Regions from separate parts of the Homo sapiens genome. Here region 1 is linked to region 2. Evidence: promoter capture Hi-C in 16 types of primary human blood cells and fetal thymus (Javierre and others, 2016). All regions are on one chromosome and are shown on one strand. Each heading gives the region's core, a stretch centred on a gene start or on the middle of the fragment in contact. The rest is flanking DNA. Distances are from core to core; before and after follow the strand shown. Region 1 overlaps LINC02988 (long intergenic non-protein coding RNA 2988). Region 2 holds the start of H2AC20 (H2A clustered histone 20).

Region 1 (6,199 bases), core at 2,339-4,838, 290 kb before region 2:
CTCTGTCGCTCAGGCTGGAGTGCAATGGCCCGATCTCGGCTCACTGCAACCTCCGCCTCCCAGGTGCAGGCGATTCTCATGCCTCAGTCTCCCGAGCAGCTGGGATTACAGGCGCCCACCATGACGCTTGACTAATTTTTCTATTTTTAGTAGAGACAGGGTTTCACCATGTTGTCCAGGCTGGTCTCGAACTCTTGAGCTCAGGTGATCCGCCCGCCTCAGCCTCCCAAAGTACTGGGATTACATGCATGAGCCACCGCGCCTGGCCTGGAAGCCAGATCTTTTTACTCCCAGTTTGGTATTTTTCCATTCAACTACCGTTGAAAACGCCTCATAGTTGTTAGAGAACAGTTCCAGAGAATATATAATTCAGTGTTAAATTGAATAATCAACTGTTACTGCATAGGGGGAGAGTTCATTGTTCACTGGAACTATCTGGAAGTGTGACAGATTTTGAAGAATGGGAATGGTGTGGACATTCCAAAAGGACCAGAAACCTTGTCTCTGTTCTGTGTTGTTTGGGGATGTCCATGAAGAAATGTATAACCCTCAATCCAAGTGTGAAGCCTTTGCACATGCTGTGGGAGCAGGCGTGTTCAGGGAGTGCCCCTGCTGAGCATCCTGCAGACTGATAGGGAGAGAGACATATTGTGTAGAGACCACTTTCTCCCCAAGCAAAACCAAAGCAAGGTGGGGTGGAGGACCCAGGGTGGGAGGGGAAGTGGAGTCCAAGTGATTTACAGGTTTTCATTACACATTTGAGGATGAACCTAGGTCGCTAGAACTTTGACTCAATGACAGAAGGGGCCTTTGTGGAGGTCTTGATGTAAAAAACACGAGTCACCTCTCAGAACTTCTGCATAGCTGCTAGAAGTTAGTTCTCAACCTTAAAGTTCCTTCTTTTTCTAGAGGATCGCTGAAAGCAAAAGTAACAATCTAAACCATCTGCCACTTAAATAAGAGGAGATTTATTGCTTTTAATAGAAAGGATGCTTGTTCCAACAGAAGGGTATGGCTCAGAGAAGCAAGCCTGGCTGGGCACGGTGGCTCACGCCTCTAATCCCAGGACTTTGGGAGGCGGAGGTGCGTGGATCACCTGAGGCCAGGAGTTCGAGACCAGCCTGACCAACATGGCGAAACCCCATCTCTACAAAAAAAGACAAAAAATAATTAGCCGGGTGTGATGGTACACCTGTATAGTTCCAGCTACCTGGGAGGCTGAGGTACGAGAATTGCTTGAACCTGGGAGGTGGAGGTTACAGTGAGCCGAGATCGCACCACTGCACTCCAGCCCGGGCAACAGAATGAGACTGTCTCAAAAAAAAAAAAGAGGCAGCTGCGGCTTCATCTCTTTGGCCTTCCTGAGCATATATTCTGGTCACTGCTCTGCCGTCAAGCTGTGGAGTAGGGGGGATCCCTAAAGAGCAAACAGCAGGTATGAGTGTTAGAGACCAGAGACAGCAATGCTGATTCAGCGCATAAAGTTCACCAATGTGCAGTGTGGCTGGAGTTTAGAGCATGGGGCAGCCCTGAGGTGTCTATAAGGGGAATGGAGAGGAAGGACAAGGCCAAAGAAAGAAGCGACTAGGATCACAGAGGCCCTGTAAACCGTGTTAAAGAAGGTGGACTCTAACTCAAGGGCAGTGGGGACTATAAATATCAGATTTAAAATTTTAATTTTTTTTTTTTTGATATGGAGTCTTGCTCTTGTTGCCCAGGCTGGAGTGCTATGGCATGATCTGGGTTCACTGCAACCTCTGCCTCCCAGGTTCAAGCAATTCTCCTGCTTCAGCCTCCCGAGTAGCTGGGATTACAGGTGCCTACCACCATGCCTGGCTAATTTTTTCTTTTTCTTTTTTTTTCCGTATTTTTAATAGAGACAGGGTTTCATCATGTTGGCCAGGCTGGTCTCAAACTCCTGACCTCAGGTGATATGCCCGCCTCGGCTTCCTAAAGTGTTGGGATTACAGGCGTGAGCCACTGCGCCAAGCCAGATTTAAAATTTTAGATCACTCTAATTGCAGTGTGGGCATAAGAAACAGTAGAGTTAGTGACACTAATTAGAAGACTGTTGCAGTCGTTGGAGAGAGAGGGGTTGATGGCCTGAAACTGTAGAGGCAAAACCATGAGTAGCAATGTTGGCACTCAGGGCAAACAACTCAAAATTGACCTTCAAACAGCTCTGTAATGCAGGATACAGCCAGGTGTGACTGGTAATATGCCTTTTGATAGTTTTCAATTTAACCAAATGGTCTGGATAACCAGGTGTTTTTTTTTTTTAAACAATTATGTTTTAAAGGAAACATGCCCCTTGAGATTATGGAATTCAGGAGCAAAGCACAGTCCACTCCTGTAGTTGGGCTGGGGCAGAGGCAGTGGGAAGGGGGTGGTAATCAGATTTGGGAGATACTTAGGAAGTAGGGTGGACAAGTAAAGCTTTTGGTAGAAAAACATGTTTAGTTAAAGTTGTTTTTGTTTTGTTTGAATTGAATTAGTAATATATGCCATGGTAAAATTCAAACAGCACTAAAGGAATACAATGAAAAGTGTCTCCTTAACCAGAGTCAGCCATTCTTAACAGTTCTTGTGTATTCTAGAGCTTTTTGTGCCACTGTAAGCCTATGTTTAATATTTATTTTTTATAAAAATTGGAACATACTATACACCTTGCTCTTCCCTTTACTAATTCACTTAACATTATATTTTGGCAGTCTTGCTATATCTATTTTTGGTTTGTTTCTAAAGAGACAGGGCCTTGGTCTATTGCTCAGGCTGGATTGCAGTGGTGCAATCATAGCTCACTGTAACCCCAGACTTCCTCCTGCTCCTGCCTCCAAGTAGCTATAACTACAGGAGTGTGCCACCATGCCCATCTAATTTTTAAATTTTTTATAGAGATGGGCTCTCCCTATGTTGCCCAGGCTGGTCTCAAACCCTGGCCTCAAGTGATCCTCCTGCATTGGCCTCCCAGAGCACTGGGATTACAGGTGTGAGCCACCATGTCCTGTCTACTTTGTTCTTTTAATAGTCCATTGTTTGAATGTGTGCTCTCATTATTTATTTAAACTAGTCTCCTTTTTTTTTTTTTTTTTTTTGAGACAGGGTCTCGCTGTATTTCTCAGGCTGGAGTGCAGTGGCGTGATCTCGGCTCACTGCAACCTCTGCCTCCTGAGGTCAAAGTATCCTCCCACTTCAGCCTCCTGATTAGCTGAGACTACAGGTGTGTGCCAACACACCCAGCTAATCTTTGTATTTCTTTTTAGAGTCGGAGTTTCACCCTGTTGCTCAGGCTGGTTTCAAACTCCTGGGCTCAAGCGATCCACCTGTCTCAGCCTCCCAAAGTGCTAGGATTACAGGTGTGAGTCCAGCCAAATTGGTCTCCAAATTGATGTACATTGGGGCTGTTTCTAATTTTTGATATTTGAGTTAGATTTTTTAAAATTAGCTTTTAAATAAGGGAAGAGACACAAAATAATGAAGGAAGAATTCTAGGTGGTGAAAAAGATTTATACATAAATAGGGACCACTAGTGTCTTTGTGTCTGACGGACTACTCTTGACTCGCCTAGGCCATAGGATGAACATATTTATGAGGAGGGAGGTGGGAGAGTAGTGGGTGTTTCTGCAAACCCTTGAGTCTATGTGTAGAATTGGGATGTGACTTAAGAACTGGGCATTTCTAACAGGGTCAGAGTGAAGCTGGCTATAGCCACTTCTTCTCCAATTAAAGATCTTTCAGGGGAGCAGGCTGCCACAGCTGTGAACATTGATCATACTCCGCTCCAGTAAAAATGCCTTCCTGCCCGTGCACAGACGTCACCCTGTTGTATCCTAAATCCACCTGTTGTCATAGTTGTTTCTCTGGGAACCCCAGCCATAGTAAGAAATATGAAGTACTGGCCGGGCGCGGTGGCTTATGCCTGTAATCCCAGAATGTTGGGAGGCCGAGGCAGGTGGATCACAAGGTCAGGAGTTTGAGACCAGCCTGGCCAACTTGGTGAAACGCTGTCTCTACTAAAAATACAAAAATTAGCCGGGCACGGTGGCATGCACCTATAAACCCAGCTACTTGGGAGGCTGAGGCAGGAGAATTGCTGGAACCAGGGAGGTGGAGGTTACAGTGAACTGAGATTGTGCCACTACACTCCAGCCTGGGTGACAGAGTGAGACTCCGTCTAACAAAAAAAAAAAAAAAAAGAGAAAAGAAGTATTTGTGAAAGAAAATGTTTGCTGGCTTGGGTAGAAAGTTGTGTCAGGGAGGAATGAGAAATGGGCCATTTGTTTAAGGCCACCCCCGACTAGCTCTTCCTTTTCTTTTTTTTTTTTTTTTTTTTTTTTGAGACGGAGTTTCATTCTTGTTGCCCAGGCTGGAGTGCAACGGTCTGATCTCGGCTCACAGCAACCACTGCCTCCTGGGTTCAAATGATTCTCCTGCCTCAGCCTCCCGAGTTACAGGCATGCAACACCACGCCCAGATAATTTTTTCTTTTTTTGTATTTTTAGTAGAGATGGGGTTTCTCCATGTTGGTCAGGCTGGTCTCAAGCTCCTGACTTCAGGTGATCCACCTGCCTCAGCCTCCCAAAGTGTTGGGATTACAGGTGTGAGCCACGCGCCCGGCCAGCTCTTCCTTTTCATGTAAGCATGCTCTTAACTTTTCTGCTGGAGTTGGAGAAATTTGTTTTGATGCAGCCATCTGCCAGTTGCATAATCTTGGGTATGTTTCAACATCTCCAAGCTTCAGTTCCCCATCAGTCAAATGGGCATCATAATTCCCACTTGGCACAGTGTTGGGAAGATTTATTGAGCCAATGTATGTGAAAGGGCCTATGTTTCATTTTACTTTTTTGCAAGGCCTTGTCACAATGGAGTTCCTAAGGCAATGTGTAATCCAACCCAAGATAATAGATACCAAAATGTTCTATTCTTTCCTGGGATGTGACTGCCAATGTTAGCCTCCCATACTCTCAGCCTGTGTGCTTTACTGAAACTGTCTCTGAAAGCTCATCACCTTCAGGTAATTCATACAAGATTTTTTTACATTTGTATAGTACTTTATAGCTGTCACAGAGACCTTAGCAACAATCATCTAATTTGAACCCCCTAGCAAACCTTCTGGGGCAAGGCACATTTTATCACCATGTTACATATAACATAAACGAGGCTCAGAGAGAATGATATAAAGAAACTGAGGGCCGGGCACAGTGGCTCACACCTGTAATCCCAGCATTTTGGGAGGCCAAGGTGGGAGGATCACTTGAGGTCAGGAGTTCAAGACCATCCTGGCCAACATGGTGAAACCCCGTCTCTACCAAAAATATGAAAGTTAGTCAGGTGTGGTGGCACACGCATGTAATCCCAGCTACTCATGAGGCTGAGGCATGAGAATTCCTTGAGCCCAGGAGGCGGAGACTGCAGTGAGCTGAGATCGCACCACTGCACTCCAGCCTGGGCGAGAGTGAGACCTTGTCTCAAAAAAAAAAAAAGATCCAGGTGCCATGTCTCATGTCTGTAATCCCAGCACTTTGGGAGGCTGAGATGGGTGGATCACCTGAGGTCAGAAGTTCGAGAGCAGCCTGGCCAACATGGTGAAACCCCGTCTCTAGTAAAAATACAAAAATTAGCCGGGCATGGTGGCAGGTGCCTGTAATCCCAGCTACTCAGGAGGCTGAGGCAGAAAAATCGCTTCAACCTAGGAGGTGGAGGTTGCAGTGAGCCGAGATCGTGCCATTGCACTCTGGCCTGGGCAACGGAGTAAGACTCTTGTCTACAAAAAAAAAAAAAGAAAAAAAAAGAAACTGAAGCTCAAAGAAGACAAATAATAAACAGCAGAGACCAGGAGTAGATTACTTCTAGACTACTTCAAGACTAAAGAGATGAGAGGTACCTTCCCTGACCTCAATCTGCCTAGGTTTAGAATTCTTGAGTCTGTTTCCCCAATCATGTTTTGCATCCTAGTAAAATGCATGCCACTTCTAAAATAATTTTTCTGTTGAAATAATAACATCAGCAGGCCGGGCGCGGTGGGTCACACCTGTAATCTCAGCACTTTGGGAGGCCGAGGTAGGTGGATCACCTGAGGCCAGGAGTTCGAGGCCAGTCTGGACAACATGGCGAAACCCTGTCTCTACTAAAAACACACAAATTAGCTGGGTATGGTGGTGGGTGCCTGTAGTTCCAGCTACTTGGGAGGCTGAGGCAG
Region 2 (5,943 bases), core at 195-2,694:
CCCCTACTCTTTCGTGAGAGTAACTCTCCGTCTAAGGATGTCTTCTGCAGTTCCTTAGGGTCCATATTGGGATTTCCCGGCTGTAAACTAAACAAAGCAAAGCAAAACAAAACAAAAACCCACAGTGCCTCTCAGTAAAACAAAACCAGTATTTTGTTTGAAAGCCTGCTCTCTTTAAAGATCCTGGCATGCAAATAAGGGGCTTTAATGTGGCTCTCAGCGATTGGTAGATACTTACAAAATCCGTCATTTCCTTTCAGTGCAGGACGCAAACCAAGAGGCGGCTTTCTGCTTTTCTATTGGCTGTTAGATACGGCTCCGCTTTTAGCCAATCAAACGACTTCCCTTCACCCCTCCCGGTAGCTCTTATAAATTACATCAAATTGGTTATTCTTTCCACATTCTTCTCCTTGTAAAAGAAGCTGTAACTGCAATTTTAGCCGTAATGTCAGGACGCGGAAAGCAGGGAGGCAAGGCCCGCGCTAAGGCCAAGTCGCGCTCGTCCCGCGCTGGTCTCCAGTTCCCGGTGGGGCGAGTGCACCGCTTGCTGCGCAAAGGCAACTACGCGGAGCGGGTCGGGGCAGGCGCCCCGGTGTACCTGGCGGCGGTCCTCGAGTACCTGACCGCGGAAATTCTGGAGCTGGCGGGCAACGCGGCTCGGGACAACAAGAAGACGCGCATCATCCCTCGCCATCTGCAACTAGCCGTGAGGAATGACGAAGAGCTCAACAAGTTACTCGGGGGTGTCACCATTGCCCAGGGCGGCGTCTTGCCCAATATCCAGGCTGTCCTGTTGCCCAAGAAAACGGAGAGTCACAAGCCTGGCAAGAACAAGTAATTAAGAGGCTTGACACCATACTCATTCACCCCAAAGGCTCTTTTAAGAGCCACCAAAGTGTCAAATGAAGGGCTGATCACGAAATAGCGCATTAGCTCTTTTTTTGAAAACTTGGGTGGCTCTAAAAAGAGCCTTTGGTCTTGGTTTGTTTGTCTGCATTTATTTGCTTTTGGCTTTGTGGCTTTCGGTTTTCTTTGGTAACAGAACGGCCTGGATGTTAGGCAAAACGCCGCCCTGGGCGATGGTGACTTTGCCCAGCAGCTTGTTCAGTTCCTCGTCGTTGCGGATGGCCAGCTGGAGGTGACGAGGGATGATGCGCGTCTTCTTGTTGTCCCGAGCCGCGTTGCCCGCCAGCTCCAGGATCTCGGCGGTCAGGTACTCGAGGACCGCCGCCATGTAGACGGGCGCGCCGGCCCCCACCCGCTCCGCGTAGTTGCCTTTGCGCAGCAAGCGGTGCACTCGCCCTACCGGGAACTGGAGGCCAGCGCGGGACGAGCGCGACTTGGCCTTGGCGCGGGCCTTGCCTCCTTGTTTGCCACGACCAGACATGACTGAAATCAAGGTTAAACACAGACAACGCTCAGAACCTCGCAACAAAATAAGATTGAAAGAGAACCAAGAGGAAAGCCTTTATAAGCTTTCCTAGGGGTGGGGTCAAGAACGAGTTTTTCATTGGTCCTAATATGGCTTCAGAACCGGCCAATCAAGTCAAGAGTCGGTGTTGTTACGTACGCATTGCTGAAAACGCAAGGTCCGCACACGGACCAATGGAAATGAACGACTTTCGGAGCCCTAATTTGCATAAGGTGGTTATAAAAGAATCAGGCCCGCCCATTCTCTTACTTCTTTTCTTGGCTAAGCCGCGTTTGTACTGTGTCTTACCATGCCTGAACCGGCAAAATCCGCTCCGGCCCCTAAAAAGGGCTCCAAGAAAGCCGTCACCAAAGCCCAGAAGAAAGACGGCAAGAAGCGCAAGCGCAGCCGCAAAGAGAGCTACTCCATCTACGTGTACAAGGTGCTGAAGCAGGTCCACCCCGACACCGGCATCTCGTCCAAGGCCATGGGCATCATGAACTCCTTCGTCAACGACATCTTCGAGCGCATCGCGGGAGAGGCTTCCCGCCTGGCGCACTACAACAAGCGCTCCACCATCACATCCCGCGAGATCCAGACGGCCGTGCGCCTGCTGCTGCCCGGCGAGCTGGCCAAGCACGCCGTGTCCGAGGGCACCAAGGCGGTCACCAAGTACACCAGCTCCAAGTGAGTCCCTGCCGGGACCTGGCGCTCGCTCGCTCGAGTCGCCGGCTGCTTGACTCCAAAGGCTCTTTTCAGAGCCACCCACCTAATCACTAGAAAAGAGCTTGTTCACTTATTCCCTTAGTTTCTTTTCATAAAGTAAGTTATTTTAGTGTGAAGGTCATGGGAAATGGCATACGTAGCTTTTTAACTATTTGGAACTCGAGGTCCCCAGTGCGTCATTGGATTTGCTTTTGAATCTAGAGCGTGTCTTTACTCATTGTGCTGCTTAGCCTTCCCAGGAGTCGGTTCTCAATTAGGCTGTTGGGAATCCGCCTCTTTACCCGCCCCCACTCCCGCCCCACACGCGCCCTGGTGGCTCCTTGGGTCTGTTTCATTCTAAAACGAAGTGGCTGAGTTCGGCTGTCATTTAAGAGAACTCCAGGACACAATTCAGCCCGGGTTCCGCAAACACTGCGTGACAGCTCTGTATGACTGACGCTTGGCAGCAGCTTTTGTGTCCGGTCACCAGTTCTGCCGTGCGATGGGGCCTCCTGTGGATACCAGCCGTTCTGTGTATTTTGGACGAAGGCCGCGCAGCCGGGTCCCAGCCTTGTCCTGATTGGGCGACAAGAATATTCAAAATTCTGCGCCTTTTTCTAATTTGTAGATTTCAGTTTCCGTCGTTCACTTTGAGACTTTGAAATTCCTATTTCTCATTTTGTTGATAATTTCTGCATTTAATGGTCTGTGCTTTAAATGGTAACGCTACGGCCCCAGGTCACTGCGAGGCACTTACCATGTAGATACGGGCTCAAAAGTCACCTCTCAGAGACCTACGTCATCCACTCAGGAATTCGCGCCTCTCATACTTGCCTGTCTCATTTTATCTTCCTTCTAGCAGCTGTCTGAAATTGGTTCGTCTGTTTTCTTGTTTATGGTATTCTCAAGCCCTTGACAGACCGGCTAGTGTGGTTTTCCCGTGCATCTTCAGCCTGGCACATTATGGACACTTAAATACTACGTATTGATCTAATATTGTTGGGTTAATTTTTCCATCCCACCCTTTTCTTAATCGCTTCCGTGGATGGATGAAGGGTGCTGTTCATTTCCATTAGATGTATGTGAAGGCACAGTGAAAATGGAAATGTTCTTGGAGCTACTTCCTCAAAATGTATCCTTAGTCACCTCAGTGCAACAGCTGGGAGGGGGCCGTGTTAAGATTTTTTTTGCTACAAAGAGGAGGTGGCAATGGTAGATCCACCCTTATGCTTCTCAGTTTAGCATAACCTCTTATGGATTTTCATCAAATTCAGCGTGTTGGTCACTGGAAAGAGCCTTTTCCTTCTCCTTTTCTTACTCTCCCCTCATGGTGTTCCCCTCTTAAAGGAGAGGAGCTTTTAATTTACACTTACCACCTCATTTGCTTTTCTGGAGGCCATGCAATATAGGCGGGACTACAGAGTTAATCTCCTTTTTACAAATGAGGCCAAGAGAAGCCTCATTGGTTCACAGTCATGCAGCTCATACTGTCCACCCTTGTATTCTCAGATGCAGGACAATTGCATTTTAGTTTTATTTTGTGGAGGTGCAGAATATTTACTCTTTCTGTCCAACCCTTGATTCTGCCGAGGAAGACACTGATGGTTTGATGAGTGATTCAGCTGTTTTTGGCTAAGGGCTTTTGGAGCTGATGGCAGGGGTTTGATGAATCCAAATGAGCTCTAGACATTATCACAGACTGAATAGATCTTAACTGTCTCCTACATGTGTGTTTTCAAATGTGTATAGATGCTATTGTTATTAATAAAGTTACCAATTAATTTAAAGGCTTTGCTGGATTCTTTTATCTACAGTGTATTTTCTCAATGAATGAAATTAACAGATACAACTTCCACTGTGTCTGTAGAAAAGCGTGGGTGCCTCTGATCTGGGGGATGACTATTTATAAGCCACCAGCCAAACTGCTGCCCCAAAGGTGCACTGGGGCTGAAATAGTCTGTTACAAGGCCACTGTTAATGCTTAGTAATTGAAAAATATATGATCACAAATAGACAGCAGTACAAATAAGATGGAAGAAATAAAGTTCATAATAAAGTTAAGCTAACACCTACGGAGCACTTACTACGTGCCAGGTAGTGTCCTAGGCCCTTTATATGTATTGACTCATCTAATTCTCACTGGGACCTCAGGAAGTAGTACCGTTATTATCACCCATTTTACAGATAAGGAAACTGAGGCAAAGAGAAGCCTTTCTTCAGAAACTCTCCAGAGAATAAGCTCCTAGGTTAGCAGTTAAGGGACTTGAGAAACAGGGTCATTCTGAAAACCTGGACCCTTCCTGTGTTTTAGGGGGAAATATCTATGCTTTAGAATTGAAAAGAAATACCACTGGCTTTATTCTCTTCAGAGTGCACCCTGGATATAAATCCTGGGTGGTGGTGGCTGAGTACATTGAGGGTGGGATTAGGTGGCTGTGATCCTTCATCCCAGAGGCCATAGCTCAACTCAATTGAGTTTGTCCCCACAGTGGTGGGGCTCACCAGCTGGAATCCTTTCACTAACATGAGAGAGCCTTAGTTGCTGGTTTTGGGCTCCACCTGGGGATGATGTTCACTGGGAAGGATGTTATAGAGTGAGGAAGGGGGGGAAGAGGTGATAGATTTTGATATTTTAACTCTGGAGGGGAAGTAATTGGTGAGATTAATCCTCAAGAACCTCTTTGATCGTTTCTCCTGCTCAGACATCTTTAAACATTTGCTTATGTTGGGGTTAATAACAATAATTGTTAAAATAATGATTGCTTCCCCTTACTAAGCACTTAACTGTTTACCTTAAACTTACTTAGCAGTAAGCTAAGAGTTTACCTTACACTTACTTAGCAGGATGGTCTTGATCTCCTGACCTCGTGATCCACCCGCCTCCTAAAGTGCTGGGATTACAGGCGTGAGCCACTGCGCCCAGCCTACAGCCACTTTTTAAGATAGGTTCTGTTGGCCACACGCAGTGGCTCACACCTGTAATCCCAGCACTTTGAGAGGCCAAGGTGGGTGGATCATTTGAAGTCAGGAGTTCGAGACCAGTCTGCCCAACATGGTGAAACCCCACCTCTACTAAAACTACAAAAATTAGCTTGGCATGGTGGTGGGCACTTGTAGTCCCAGCTACTCGGGAGGCTGAGGCAGGAGAATCCCTAGAACCCGGGAGGTGGAGGCTGCCGCCACTGCACTCCAGCCTGGGCAACAGAGGAAGACTCTATCTCAAAAAAAAAAAAAAAAAAAGGAAAAAAAAATGAAGGACCAAAAGGACACTGTCATAGCTCTGTAATATGGCTTATCAATAATTCTGGAGTAGGCCTAAAGGGCAGCTCTGTTTGGGTTTCAGAAATTGACCCTTAAGTGAGAGACTGTCCCTGTAACCGAGGGGACTAGGTTTAATAATTCATTTAATATGTGTGATTGAAAATCTGTATCTACTAATTTTATAAATATTAAGTATCTATGCACATTATTAAATTCTATAAGAACGGCATTCTGGGACCAATTTTCTTCTCTCTGACTCCTAAGCATTGTTAGGTGTGATATCATTTGTTCTTTCATTCAAGAGTTTATTATCTGTGAAGATGGCAGGCAATCTGCTAGGTAGTGAGGACAGAAAATTGAACAGGCGTGGCTTCTGCCTTCCTGGACCTCTAGTGACTAGAAGAGAAGACATATTAATCCAGTGACTATGAGAAAGTGTGACAAGTATTACGACTGTAGAAGTATAGATATAGAGAGTATAATGGAGGGAGTCGTAACTTCACATTGGTGGGTGTAGGGAAGGCCTCCCTGAGGAAAGAACCTTTAGGATGACACTTGACAAGGAT

The links. Contacts are between HindIII fragments. The CHiCAGO score rates a contact against its expected background, and 5 or more counts as called.
Region 1: a fragment that was not itself captured here is called in contact with the fragment with the promoter of H2AC20 in region 2 in 8 of 17 cell types (erythroblasts, M0 macrophages, total B cells and 5 more); the score reaches 9.2 in erythroblasts.

What each region holds. Positions count from the first base shown.
Region 1 is chr1:150,175,341-150,181,539 of GRCh38, reverse strand. It overlaps LINC02988 (long intergenic non-protein coding RNA 2988), which reads right to left. Exons shown (of 4, transcript NR_135098.1): 4 at 312-628. Among named protein-coding and RNA genes, the nearest start is that of LINC02988, 18 kb to the right of the region's middle. The HindIII fragment of the contact is 2,299 bases long and covers 2,439-4,737 here.
Region 2 is chr1:149,882,419-149,888,361 of GRCh38, reverse strand. H2AC20 (H2A clustered histone 20) reads right to left here and starts at 1,444. Exons shown (of 1, transcript NM_003517.3): 1 at 951-1,444. The coding sequence starts at 1,387. The coding sequence ends at 998. It overlaps H2BC21 (H2B clustered histone 21), which reads left to right and starts at 1,680. Exons shown (of 1, transcript NM_003528.3): 1 at 1,680-3,903. The coding sequence starts at 1,722. The coding sequence ends at 2,102. It overlaps H2AC21 (H2A clustered histone 21), which reads left to right and starts at 397. Exons shown (of 1, transcript NM_175065.3): 1 at 397-893. The coding sequence starts at 446. The coding sequence ends at 838. RefSeq lists enhancers at 327-616, 637-776, 1,187-1,246, 1,377-1,446, 1,767-2,056 and 5 more. The HindIII fragment of the contact is 4,135 bases long and covers 1-1,477 here.